3 separate regions of the Homo sapiens genome follow, and all the other regions are linked to region 3. Evidence: promoter capture Hi-C in human tissues and cell types (Jung and others, 2019). All regions are on one chromosome and are shown on one strand. Each heading gives the region's core, a stretch centred on a gene start or on the middle of the fragment in contact. The rest is flanking DNA. Distances are from core to core; before and after follow the strand shown.

Region 1 (4,657 bases), core at 1,972-4,471, 190 kb before region 3:
TGTGTGAATGGCTGGGTGTGTGGGTGGCTGGGTGGCTGGGTGTATGGGTGGCTGGGTGGCTGGGTGGCTGGGTGTATGGGTGGCTGGGTGGCTGGGTGGGTGGGTGGCTGGGTGGCTGGGTGTATGAGTGGCTGGGTGGCTGGCTGTGTGGGTGGCTGGGTGGGTGAGTGGCTGGCTGGGTGGGTGGGTGGCTGGGTGTGTGGGTGGCTGGGTGGGTGGGTGGCTAGGCATGTGGGTGGCTGGGTGGGTGAGTGGCTGGGTATGTGAGTGGCTGGGTGTGTGGGTAGCTGGGTATGTGTGTGGCTAGGTGGGTGGATTGATGGGTGTGTGTATGGGGAGATGGGTGGCTATCTGCTGGTACAGATGTGTGCATACGCATGCACGCCTTTACTCTGGAAGATACTTCAGGCTTTTTTGTTCTATACTGTTTCCAGAAAGACCCCGGAAATGCCACACCCCGGAAACTGCAGAGCCCCGTGGGTGAATGGAGAGGCTCTGGGGGTTGGATCCTCCTGGAGGCTTCGAGTAACTGAGGAACTCAGGGTAACAGCCCTGCCTAGGGTTGCTGTATGCCAGGGGGGCTGGGTGCTGGGACCCTGGAGGAGGGGAGCTGCCCTAACTGGCTGAAGCAACTTGGAACTCAGAGGGCCCCGCAAATGATGCCTTCACTCAGGCAGTAAACCCCTACTTGGGGCTAGATCTGAGCCTCCAGAGACCACATGAGCCACCACCAGGAAGGATGTACCTGGGTTGGGATGGCAGGGAAGGGATCTGGGCAACCCAGTGGGCACCTGTCATCACTGGCTTGGAGGACTGGGCAGGAAGGCTGCCTGAAGAGGTCTGAGAGCAGAGCTGAGATCGCCCTGGCACCACTGGGGAGGACGTGAGCTCACTGGCCCTTCTACGGTTGCGTAGCCCACCGCCTTCCCACCCCATGGGCCACCAATCTGCATGTAAGCCTGCCATGGGCCTGTCTGCCTACCATGGCTTCCACTGGCTCACCAGGCAGGCTGCCCTTTCATCTGTCTCTGCCCACCCATTATCGACACTGCCAGGATGCCAGCACACGCACACACAGCTCCTTCTCCATTCTGAGCTCCTCACAGTAACCCTGTGAGAGGGGACCATCATTACTTCCCTTTTACAGATGAGATGAGGACACTGGGGCACAGCCAGGTTATTGACTTCCCCAAGGACACATGGCTGGGGAGTGGCAGTGCTGGGGTTGGAACCCAGGCTGTGTCACCTGACAGGCTGAGCTCTTCCCCACTGTGGGATCTGCCCCTTGGCCCGTCTGTCTGTCCATCCGCCCATCCACTCTGTGACTGCCCACCGTTCAGCCCCTTCATTCGCCTGCCACTCTGTCCATCCAGCCGCCCGTCCATCCATCCATCGCTGTCGCCCATCCATCCTGGAGCTAATGCAGTTAGAGGACCAGGGGCCCTGAGGGGAGAGAAGGCCCCAAACTGCCCATCTGGCCGGGCCAGGGTGGCCGGGGGTGGGGTGGGCTGCCCAGGCCAGGCAGGCCTGCAGGGGGCTGGAGGGAATTAGCTGAGTGACTGCCAGGATCATCTAATTAGGAACTCTAGTGATAAGCAGATAGGATCGGGGGTGATTAGAATCCTTTTAAAAAGCCACTCCATTAATTACAGAGACAGAGAGGGGCCTCTGGCTGCTCCGAATACCAATTGGCTGCTTAATCGGCTCCATCAGCTCGCCCGGGGGAGACCTTCCTGGTACTGCTGTGTGACCTTCGGTGTGCCCTGCCCTCTCTGGGCCTCGCTTGGTCGCTGAAGGTCCTTCTCTCCCTGGCCATGGCTCGGGGTTGGCTTTAGGGTGGGCCTGAGATGAGGGACATGGGACATCTGAGGCCAGGAAGCCTAGGCTGGCTCCCCAGAGAGGGCAAATCCCCAAAAGCACCCACTGGTGAATGAGGACAGAGAGGCTTGAAGAGGGGAGGTGGCCTGACAGAATTGACGGTGGAGCGTGTGGGGCCTAAGTGTGCGCTCATGCCTGTGTGTCCCTGTCCCTCCAGCAGGCCCTATGGAGGCCTCAGAGCCCCTGATGCTCCCCACTGGCTCCCCAAAAACTGGCGTGGAAGGAGACTAGCCTGAACCCTTTGCAGAAGGGAAACTCCTCTGCACACTGCCCGGCTCCACGGTCCACAGCTCCCTTCATGGGGAGCTCCCCACAGGGGCCTCCATCTCAGGATGCCCTTGATGGTGAGGTGTGGGACCTGCTCCCAGGTGACACACCTGTTCCCGTAAGTCCTACCGAGTGGTCTGTTCTGTGTGCCCTAAGACAGCCCTGAATGGGCGGCAGTGAGGGGGTCTCCAGCCCTGTCTCCATCCTGGCTGACTCCCACAGACCCATCCCAGGAACAAGGGTTGGAGCAGGGCAGTGGCTGGAAGAAATTTCCCCTGGGAGTACAACGCAGACCAGAGCCAGGGTCTCCAACAAGGCAGGGAGGGCCAGGACGGGGAGGCGGCCACAGGATTCTTGGATGCCTCATCATACTAGGTCCTTTGTCTCTTAACATTGTTTTCACCACCCCTCCTCCACTGTCCTGATTCCATCGTCATGGAAACTTCAGGCTTCACCTTTACAATGTCAGGCCACCAACACCCTCAGCAGTGTCACCATCACCATCAACACCCCAGCGTCCCATCCCCATCTCCTCTACCACTGCCACCAGCCCCACTATCACTATCATCTCTGTCACCGTCACCACGGTGCTCTCCACCCGTGTCAGCATTGTGTCACCACCACATCACTGTCACCACACTTCCTCCACCTCCATCTCCACCCACCATCCCATCTGTGACATCACCTTATCAGCTCTGCCACCAGTATCAACCACTCACACCGCCTTTGCCATCACCACCGTCATTGCCCCCTCTACTACCACCACCATCACCACCACCGGGTCTGCCTCAGCCAGACCCACCACTGCCTCTAATTAGACTGCCACCATCATCACTGCCACCACCACTGCCCCTCCAATGCCTTCCTGATGTCACCATCTGCTTTCTCTCTGCTATCCTCACACCCAACTCCATCACAACCACCACCTTCATCTGAGCCGCCATCACCCTCACAGTACACAGCCCTCAAATGTGTACCAAGGAGGAGGACATTTACTACACGCTGCACCCTGAACAGTCTGGGACCAGCGGTCAGGGAACAAGGAATCGAGATGCTCACCTGCAGCTCCCAGGTGAGCGGCTCTCTAGAGCTTGCCTGGGAGCTGCTGAGGAGCTCACGGTATTCCAGGAAGCTCCCCATCCATGCCTCAGCCTGTGGCTCAGAAGCAGGGTCTTCGCAGAAGATTGCCCCGAGCTGTTGCAAAGCTCACCATTGTCACCTGCCTGCAACGGCCTCTCTTTTCCACTCTCCAAATCCCTTGTATTGGCAGGCTCTAGTCTGGAATTATACCGGTGATGGGATTCTGGAAAATCCCTCAGATTTCTCCAGGATGCAAGGAGACCATGGAAGAGGTTGGTGTAATGCCAAGTTAGCAACAGAAAATACAGAGCCCCACACCTCAGTGCCATCACCATCGCCATCGGCACTCACACCAGCATGTCCACCACTGTGTCCTTCTCACCCCTCGGCACCCCCCTCTACCATTGCCTCTTCCACAACCACCCTCACCACCATCCTCCATTAATAGCACAATTCCTGCCTCCTATCCCATCACCACCACGGGTGTCCCCGGCACCAGCAGCACCAACACTGCTCCCAGCAGAGCCATCGTTACCAGCCCCGCTGTCAGTCCCATCTTGAGCATCTGGCATATGTTGGAGAACTGCTCACTCCCTCTTCCCCATGGGAATCTCAGGCCTCTCTTCCTATTGCCCTGAGATTTGCAGAACCTTCCTGAAGGAAACATTCTTTGCCCCATGGATACTGGCCTTGACCATGGGATGCAGCAAGACTGCCACACATCATGGCCCAACAGAAGCTTTCAGAGGCAGCCCAAGTTCCTGCTGTCTCTGAGTGGCACTGTCATGAGAGAGGGGTGTGCAGGTCAGAGCTGATTCTCCAGCCTGGGACCCACAGTGAGAAGCTATGGGAGGTGGGGCCCTGGCAGCTGCCTGTAGGCACCAGTGAGTGAAGTGGGGGGAACTAGATGTTTGTCGTGAGCCACTGAGAGGTGGAAGCTGTCACTGTGGTATAGCCGAACAAGATACAACCTCTGCTACCTCCACCACCTTCACCTTCATCATCACCATTACTGTCACCACTGCCAACCACACCAATGGCTCACTAGGAGCCATTCCCATCACCTCCTCATCATACCTGCACCATCACTGCCAACCACAACAAAGGCTCGCTGTTACCATCTCCTCTGGCATGACCATCACCACCACCACTACCATCATCAATTACTCTCAAGCACAAGCCTTGCTGCTGTCACCACCAGCATCACCATCATCATGATCAACTCCACCATCACCCATAATTACTCTCCCCCTCACACCCACCATGACCATTACCTCCACATCAACACTGCTCCCATGGTCACCTCTACTATATAATGACACCTTATCCATCTCCATGGACACCCACCGTGCCTCTCCCCACCAGCAACACAGTCAACAGCAGTGCCTCTCCCACTGCCACCGCCATCATGGAGAACTGTGCAGGGCAAGCA
Region 2 (4,564 bases), core at 1,422-3,921, 220 kb before region 3:
AGGCTCCAGCCAGCTCTGGCCTGGCCAGCCCAGCTCCGCCCAGTAGGCAGGAGGCAGGTGGGGTGGGGAGGTGCAAGGCCTGGAACCCCCTTTCCAAGGAAACAAGACAGAAGTAGAAAAGGCCCTGTAGGCACCCAGGCCCTGCTCCTGTGCTTCAGACAAGCTCGCCCATGCCCCTCCCCAGTGAGGCCCAGGGCCTTGGGATCGGGTGGTCCCAATGAGGACACCTCATTAGAGCAGTTATTCAGCATGGCGCTGGCGACAGCAGATAAGCCTTATCAGCTCATCTCCCCTCCCACAGACAGACAGAAAGTGCCCGAGCAAATGGTACCCTAGAGCTCCACTGGCGGCCTGCCCTGCTGGTTAAGGAAGGTCTGGATGGTGTGTGATCCTGCAGGATGCACACCCCGCGTGTCACCCAGGACACACTTTTCTACAGTCCACAGAACAGGGCACTGCTGGCCACAGAAACATGCATTTCAAAGATGTAGTCATATACACAGTTGCCCACAACCCAGATACGCAGACACAAACACCCACCGCAACACACATCAATTCATACATGGAGCTGTACGTAGACATGCAGACACACTCGGATACATCTCCTCCTCCCCACCATCAGTTCAAAGATACAATGATATACACTGATACCTATGCTGTTAAAGACAGATGGACATGCACATAGCCAAATGCATGTTCAAATACACAAACACAAACACACGCCCCAACAGCCATCAATTAATAAAGAGAATTATACATGGATATCCAGACACATGCAACACACCACACACACACACCTACACATACACCAGTTCAAGGACACATGCAGATACCCAGGTACAAACTATTAAAGACACACACAGGCTAGGCGCAGTAGCTCACGCCTATAATCCCAGGACTTTGGGAGGCCGAGGTGGGAGGATTGCTTTAGTCCAGGAGTTTGGGACCAGTCTGGGCAACATAGTGAGACTGTGTTTCCACAAAAATAAAAATAAAAATAATTAGCCAGGCACGGTGGCACATGCCTGTGGTCCCAGATACTCAGGAGGCTGAGGTGGGAGGATGGCTTGAGTCTGGGAGGTTGAGGCTGCAGTAAGCGCTGATTGAACCGCTGCACTTCAGTCTGGGTAACAGATCAAGACCCTGTCTCAAGAAACAAAACAAAACAAAACAACAACAACAACAAAAATACACACAGTAACACATGCCTAGATACATGCACATACACACGCAAACACACACTCCAAAACACACCCATTCATAGACATGCCACACACTGCTACAGACACATGGGCAAACACCTGGAAATCCCCACCCCTCATTACATGAGTCTCTGACATGATGACCCCACAGACACAGAGCCAAAGGGACGCACAACCATTTCCACAGACACACTCTCTTGTGCCAAATTCCAGGGTCATGAAATAGCCACACTGTGACCTACTGCCCAATACACAAACTCTCAGGAACCCACAAGAAGAAATGAACATACTCATACACCCAGTTTTGCAGACACTCCTGTGTGCTCCTAAGTGCACACAGACACACCTGGGCACACAGGACATAGACTCTGAGCCACATGCATAGAACACACACACAATGCAATAGTCACCACCAGATTTGGAGAAAGACCTATGGACAGCAGGGGTCACAAAGACCAGGGGACAGAAACACTCCTCTGGGGCACACCTGGGCACGGGAGCACAGATTTCCCAGTCCTTCCAAGCCCAAGCACTTTCCCTCTGGGCTCAAGGTCCCCAGGCCACTTTCACTCTCCCTGATCTGCTGGAATGGGAATCAGGGGTGGGGGTGGGGGGACGCTGACTGGTTGAATCCCTTAGTAAGAACTTTGGCAGCACAAGGACTGGACTGTCTTTGCCCACAAACCCAGGGGCCTTCTGGGGATGAGGACTCCCACACTCACTTTCTCCCCCCCTCCTGACTCCCACTTCTGTGAACAAGCCCTCTGCACACTTCCTTGCTTCCCCCATTGTGAGAGTCTGCCCCAAGGAGATGGGCCAGGGGGACACCAGACAGTGGACTTCTAAAGTGCTCAGGGGGTCCCCCAGCGTTAGGAACTGGAGGGGGGGTGGGACAGGGAGAGGGGCTGCGCCTGCACTTAGCTAAACAAGCCTGGCAGTGAGGGCGTCCTGAGTGTGAGCCCGAGTGCCGAGTTGCATCTGATTGTATGGCCATGTGTGTCGGTGTGACCCAGGCCGTCTGTCTGAGGATGTCCTCGCGGCCACAGCTGTGTGCACATGTGCAGGGATGTGTGCGTGTCCGTGTGAGCACTCCTGGAAGTGGGTTGAAGACAGAGGAGCGGGCGTCTGTGTACCATTATCAGTGAGTGCGTGTGCTCACAGCTCCTGAGGGTCCCCGGGGAGAGTCTCAGTAAAGACGTGTCCCAAGCTTTCTGAGCAAGCATCCCTGAGGTCAGGGGCGCGCGTGTGCGCTCCGGAGAGGGTGGGAGCGGCCTGGAGTGTGGATGCACAGGGTGTGCGCGCCCTGAGTGCCTAGCGGCCCTTGGCCGGCCAGGCGGCTGGACCTGGTAGGCCGGGTGCAGAGCCCCGGGTACCCTCCTGCCCCCTGCGGCGCTCCCGCCCCCGTCGCCACCCCCTGCCCCCCCGCAAAGTGATGTCGAAATAAAAAGCCGCGTTGCGGCCGGTGGGGGAGAGAGAGGCAGCGTGAGCGCCAGGAAGGTAGCGAGGCCAGCGTCGCCCCGGGACTCGCTGCTCAAGTCTGTCTATTGCCTGCCGCCACATCCATCCTAGCAGGGCCCCGTCGCCCACCAGGCGGACAAAAGCGGTCCGCTGAACACCATGCGGCCGCTCGGCGTGCCGCCCAGGCTCTGCTGGTGAGCGCCGCCACCCCGCGCCCAGGTCCCGCGAGCCCGCCTGCCGCGCACCTCGCCCTGCTCCCAGCTCTACTCCAGGCCCCGTCCGCCCGGGGGCGCCGCCCACCGCGCCTCGCTCGGTGAGTTTCTTCCACTTCCACCTTCCCTGGGCCCGGCCCTTCCCGCCCCCGGCCCGGCCCGCCTGGCACCCGAATCGCTTGGTCCGTTTGCCCTGTGGCCCCTACCTTTGGGGCTCGCCTTGGCCCTGCCAGAGACCGGAAACCCTGGTTATAGGGACTTTAACCAGAGGGAGTATTTGGTTACCTGGGCACAGCAGGCCCGCCTCGGGCCTCTTGTCTTCCCATTTCTCGGAGCCACAGGCCACGAGACCCTGGCATTCCCAGAGCCTCGCAAAGCACCCCCGCCTCCCGGCCCCCGAACTGGGGCCTTTGTCTCGGCCGCCCCCAATCCCCAGGCCACCGCGGCGGATGCGTCCGAGCCGGGCCGCCGAGCGGCGGCTGCACCTGCCGGCTGGTCCCGTGCGCCGGCTTTTCGCGGCTTAACCCAGCTCGCTCCTGCTTGCGCCCCCGCGCGCTGCGCCCCGCAGCCCTTTATCCTGTGTGACTGGGGTGCGTGTGGGGGAGAGCGCCGGGTCTGGAAGTCTCCCCCCGCCCCAAGCCGGAGTCGGAATCCGTTTAGTGGGATTTCAATAAGAATGGGGCCGCCGCGGGCTTGAAGATCTGCCGCCGGTAGGCGTAGACGGCGTTCTGGATCTGTCTGAAAACGGGGCATTTAAAATTATTCTGTGGCGGCCAGGCTTGAACTCCGCGTTGCTCCAACCACGAGGGGAAAGGCCCCGCGTTCAGGGACCCCGTGTGTGGCGAACGCTCCTTTACCGGAAAACAAGGAAGGAAATTCGTTGTTTTGGAAAAAGCCTCCTCTCCCGAGGTCGGGAACATCTGGTGGTGAGCTCCAGGTCTACGCAGGCACCCCGTGCTAGGATTCGTTTATGAGCAGGCAGGATTCGAGAACCAGGTAGGGCCCGTGCGGCAGCCGAGGCGTCTGGGGAGCGTTTCCCAGCCGGGCTGACAAATTGCAGACAAATTGTGCCTAACGAAACGGATTTACCAGTTGTCAGGCCGCCGGCCCCGGCCGCTCCAAATAAACCGTGGCTGTTCGTGGAGGAGGGAGAAGCACGGCCCGATTGTCTCCGGGTCTCAGCAGGGTTCCGCGGGGAGCCTGCCAGGCTTGAAGGTAGGGGTCAGAAGCGATATAGAATCTCGGAGGCGCCTGGGTCCAGGGTGCCGAGACACCTAGGACGTGGGGGCCACAGACTCTACGATTCCCAAAGACACAGAACAGTAATGAGGTGGGAGAGCCTGCACTGATGCCGAGGGAGGGAGCCTTCTGCTTTAAGGGGCTGGAATTGAACCTCAAGGAGCAGGAGGGGCCGTTATAGCAGTAGTCCCCCCCTTGGGAACCCCCCCGGAGGGATGGCTGCTGGCCTGAGATCTAATGCCCCGGCTTTAAGGGAACTTCTGAACCCATCTGCTAAGGCACCCCACTTCCTCCCCGTACCCCTCAAGGTTTATTGCCAGTGTGGGGCTGGGAGGCCGCTGGGTTGCGAATTAAATTTCTCTATGGAAGGTAGTCCCTTAGCAAATGGGTTTCCTTGACACCCCACCCCCAGCCCCACACCGCGGGCCAATTAGCTGCCCATAAGGAAAAGGC
Region 3 (4,118 bases), core at 730-3,229:
CTTTGGGCCCCAGTATCGAGGTCCTGCCAGTCCTCAGGTCACTGCTAGACCCCTCGATGACATGCGCATCCTATTCCAAAGGCACCGCAGCCCACAGCTAGAGGGAGGAAATGACTGCACCCCCAGAGGCCTACAGGCATACAAGTTTCGGTAAGCCCAGCAAGCCCGCATCCATCTCACCCCTTGCTTCTGCATCTGACAATTCCACTGGCCTGAGTCACAGTTTCCCCTTGAAACTTAACTGACCACTGAAGGTAAACAAGATTGTGAAAGCAAATGGCCCTTGGGAAGAACCATTCCCACCTGAAGGCTGTTCTTACTTATTTAAGAAGGTGGCCTGGCCATACAGAGGGGCGTGTCTTGCCCCAGTCACACAGCTGGCCGTTTATGCCTGGGACCCAAGACTCTGTGTTCCTGCAGGGCACAGTGGATGGGAACCAGCCCTGGCATTCCATAAATGTTGTTTCTAATCAAATCCCTATCTTGTCCTAGAAACAATAAAACTCATTTAATTCCACCCAAAAGCACGTATAAGTTAGAGTGGTTTTCATACGACAACTTGTAGGGTGCTACAGCTGCCCTGGGAGTGTCCCAAGGCCACCCTGGGCCAGGGCCCACACCGACCTAGGCTCCCTCAACATGTGGCTTCTACAGGGGATGTCCAGAGGCCAGCCACACTCCCTACCCGCGCCACATTTGGCACCTCCACATCTGCTCCCCCAGCAACCACTGAGTGCTGCCTGACTGCCAGGGCTCCATGTAGAGGGTGCAGGGGCTGAGGCTTCCTGTGGTGACTGCGCCCACATGCGTGCGTGCTCTAGAGCAGCTTGCCCCTTTCCTCCTCCTCTTTGCTGCGACTCGGAGGAAGGCAGCATGGTCAACCCCACTGATAGACAAGGACGCTGAAGCTCAGTGTACTCAGGGAACTCACTTGAGCTCACAGGGCCAGCACATAGGTACAAACCCAAGCCCAGTTGCTCTCGAAGCCCTGCTGTCACTTCTTTGTAACACTGCCCCTCAGCTGGAAAGGGCAGGGTATGCTTGAGTGGTGGCTGCACTCAGGCTTTGGGGTGAGCAGGGGAGAGGCTGAATCCTAAGACATCCACCTGGCCTAAGAGCAGGAAGCTGCAGTTGAGGAGCCTGGTTGGGCTGGGGCAGGGCTTGATTTGTGGTCTTGGGCACTAGAGCCCCATCAAAGGGTTGGGAGGCTGCAGGTCAACCTGGGCCCAAGTGGGACTCTAGATGCTTACACCAGGCTTGAAACACACCAAGCACGACCAGACTGAGCTGGCATCTCTATAAAGGGGGCCCACCTCAGCAGTGGGGCAGCACCACTCCTGCCTGTCCCCTTCCTTAGGAAGACACCACTTGGGTTAAAGCCACCATTTCTCCCCTGCTCCAACCATGCCTGGGCCACCCAGTGCCATCCTTGCAGAAGACTGTGTGAAATGCTTAGGCCTATCAGGAGCGCAGACAGACCCACTGTCACAGGTCCAGGCCGCTCTCAGCACAAGAACCTGGCTGTACCCTCTGCCTGGACAGCTGACTGCAGGTCAGGACTCCAGCCAGTCATCCGCTTCTGGAAGCACATGCTGGTAGCAGTTCGTCTAGCTGCAACAGATTCTCAGGGGCCTGATGGAAAAGGGCATGCCATTCACTTGGGGTTTGGGGGTTAAGAACAAGCTCCAAGCTTCCACAGGAAAAAGGCCTGCAGGGGCAGCATCCTCCAACCTGCCAGAGCTTTAGGACACTGAGCATTGATCTCTGACAACAGCACCTGCAGAGAGAAGTCTTCCTGAGTTCCCTGCCTCCTGTGAGGTCAACCTTCCATCTTTGCCTGGCGACTGTCCTTCCTCAGCTGTGCCTCCTTAGGGAGACAACAGGATATTACAACTTGGCTGCAGGTGTGATTCAAATCCTCAAGCCAGGAGAAAGGCAAGACCTCACAGAGGCTCTTGGGGTCCTGGGTGCAGGCAGGAAATGCAGAGCTCAGACCACCCCACCCCAAGTCTCTGCACTCCATGGGCCAAGTAAAAAGGCCCATTAAAGAAAAGACAAGATGCAGAGTTGTACAGGGTGGTGATAAAGACAGTGAGGCTTACGTCAAGCCCTGCTGCAAGCACGCTACGTGGCTCTTGTCAAATCCTCATGACAACCTCTGGAGGAAGCCAGGGGAGGTAACTGCCCCGTGAGTGATGGGGCAGGACTCAAACATAGTCCATCTGTGTCCAGCACCTGAGCTGTGATGGTGTGGACACTGGGAAGCACCAAGCCAGTGGATACCTCTCAGTTTTGCCTGCCTGATGTCTATTCTGCATTTCCTAGGAGTAACCCAAATTTCTTAGTGAACCATCCCTCCCACCTTGTCCCTTCCAGCTCCAGGGGTGGACATGTAACCCAGCCAGCCCAATTAGAGCACTGTACTCATCCACAGGGATGAGCTCCCGTCCAACCAGGCCAGGAGCAGCCTGTTCCTTAATTGTGTTCCTAACAGCTAGGAAAGAGATGCCATTTTGCTCTCATATCATAAATGATACTTTGGTCCAAAAGTAACAGATAGCCCTGACTGGAACCGTGTGGAGACAGAGCTCTCACAATACACGAAGTTCTGAGGCGGGGCAGACACACAGCAGCCCTCAGGTGCAGGCTCTGCTTCTGGGCAACTCTCCTGCCTCCCAGCCTCTGCAAACCTCCAGCCTGGGAGTAAGGTGGCCGTTCAGCCCCTGAGTCCAGGCGTCACATCCTTCCTCCCTTCAATGTCCAGTGAAGGAGAAAAGCTGTCTTTTCCTGTTGAGTTCCAAAAAGCAGAAAAGCTTTTCCCCAAACCCCTAGGACATGTCCCTTCACATATCATTGGCCAGAGTCAGGTAACAAGCCGCTGCCAGGGGAGGGGTGTTCCACTGTCAGGACGGATCCTTCGATAGCGTGATGTTCAGGAGTCAACCACAAGTAGCACTGCATCTTGGATTTGAAGGAGAAAATGGAAAGCCAGAGCTGTGGGGATTATGCCAGGGAAGGTGCCACCTGAGTGTGTGGCCCACACACGACAGGGCAGAGCCAGTTCTGGAGCCAGCCAGCACTCCTGATGACATCCAGACGTCTCCAGCCCTGAGCCTATCTGTTTCCTATCCTGCTTAAGGCAATTGAAGTTGGGTTTCTGTCCTTTGAAACCAGAGTACTGCCTGATACACAGAGAGCAGTGGGAGGTCTTATGAGGCTTTAAGACAAGAAACTGAGGCTGGAGAGGTGATAATGAAGAGCTATGCTCTGCCTTCCGTGCCATGCACTTTAGATTTTATCCTGGAGACAATGAGGACCCACAGACAGATGAGCAGGACAGCAATAAGGCTTTTCTGTCAGCAGGGCTGGGCTGGACTCAAGAAGAAGACCTGGGAGGCAAGGGGAGGAGCAGCATGCCACAGAAGCGGCCCTGCAGGGCCCGGGAGTTTGAACCTGAGCAGTGGCCATGGTGCTGCAGAGGAAGGGCCTGATCTGCGAGGTCCCTCCTGAGGGCGACAACCAAGGGTGGGCTGATCTGCTCAAAGGGCCTAGCATGGCTTCCTCTGGCTTTCCCAAAACCTTCCTGGTTTCCTTCTCTGCCTTCTCTCCTTCCCAGGGAGCTCCAACCCTGTGCATCTGGTGCACCACACATGGGCACAGAGAGCAGAATCCCGTAAGCTTCCACTGCCAAAAGCCAGACAACCATGAAACATCAAATGCACAGAAACTGCCTTCCTTTATGTATCTTCTGGAACAGAAAATAGTTCAGGATGAAGGTCACTCAATATTTTCTAGATAAAAACACATGGCAGCAGAGGGAGCTCAGCCTTGAGAGCCGATATCCACAGGTGTTGGAAAGCCAGCTCTGCAGCCTCGGGCACCTGATTCACAGTCACTGCTCCCAGAATGAGGCAGCACAGGGACACAGGGAGCATCTCCACTGCTGCTTACTGATGGAGCATCAGGATGCAGCCTTGAAGACAGGGGCACAGCCCCAGCAGGAAGTGGGGGGCTGCCCAGCTCTGGGTTTCTGTAAATGGCCCCAGGGTGGCAGTGACTCCAAACACAGCCCTCTCAGGTCACTCATTACCTATTTCCAATCAAAATCCTACTGAAAA

The links. The method cuts DNA at HindIII sites, captures the fragments that hold promoters and counts their contacts. A contact is called where the count stands out against the background at its distance.
Region 1: the fragment with the promoter of DNAJB8 here is called in contact with a fragment that was not itself captured in region 3 in 3 of the 25 tissues and cell types used here (IMR-90 fibroblasts, mesenchymal stem cells and pancreas).
Region 2: the fragment with the promoter of GATA2 here is called in contact with a fragment that was not itself captured in region 3 in 1 of the 25 tissues and cell types used here (mesendoderm cells).

The regions. Positions count from the first base shown.
Region 1 is chr3:128,465,454-128,470,110 of GRCh38, reverse strand. It overlaps DNAJB8 (DnaJ heat shock protein family (Hsp40) member B8), which reads left to right and starts at 3,221. Exons shown (of 3, transcript NM_153330.6): 1 at 3,221-3,497. All of the region lies in intron 2 of DNAJB8-AS1 (DNAJB8 antisense RNA 1), which reads right to left. The HindIII fragment of the contact is 25,608 bases long and covers 1-4,657 here.
Region 2 is chr3:128,491,308-128,495,871 of GRCh38, reverse strand. It overlaps GATA2 (GATA binding protein 2), which reads left to right and starts at 2,671. Exons shown (of 6, transcript NM_032638.5): 1 at 2,671-2,973. The region is part of intron 2 of GATA2-AS1 (GATA2 antisense RNA 1); the gene reads right to left. RefSeq lists a silencer at 2,872-2,961. The HindIII fragment of the contact is 13,259 bases long and covers 599-4,564 here.
Region 3 is chr3:128,271,051-128,275,168 of GRCh38, reverse strand. The region is part of intron 4 of EEFSEC (eukaryotic elongation factor, selenocysteine-tRNA specific); the gene reads right to left. Among named protein-coding and RNA genes, the nearest start is that of EEFSEC, 120 kb to the right of the region's middle. The HindIII fragment of the contact is 5,747 bases long and covers 1-4,118 here.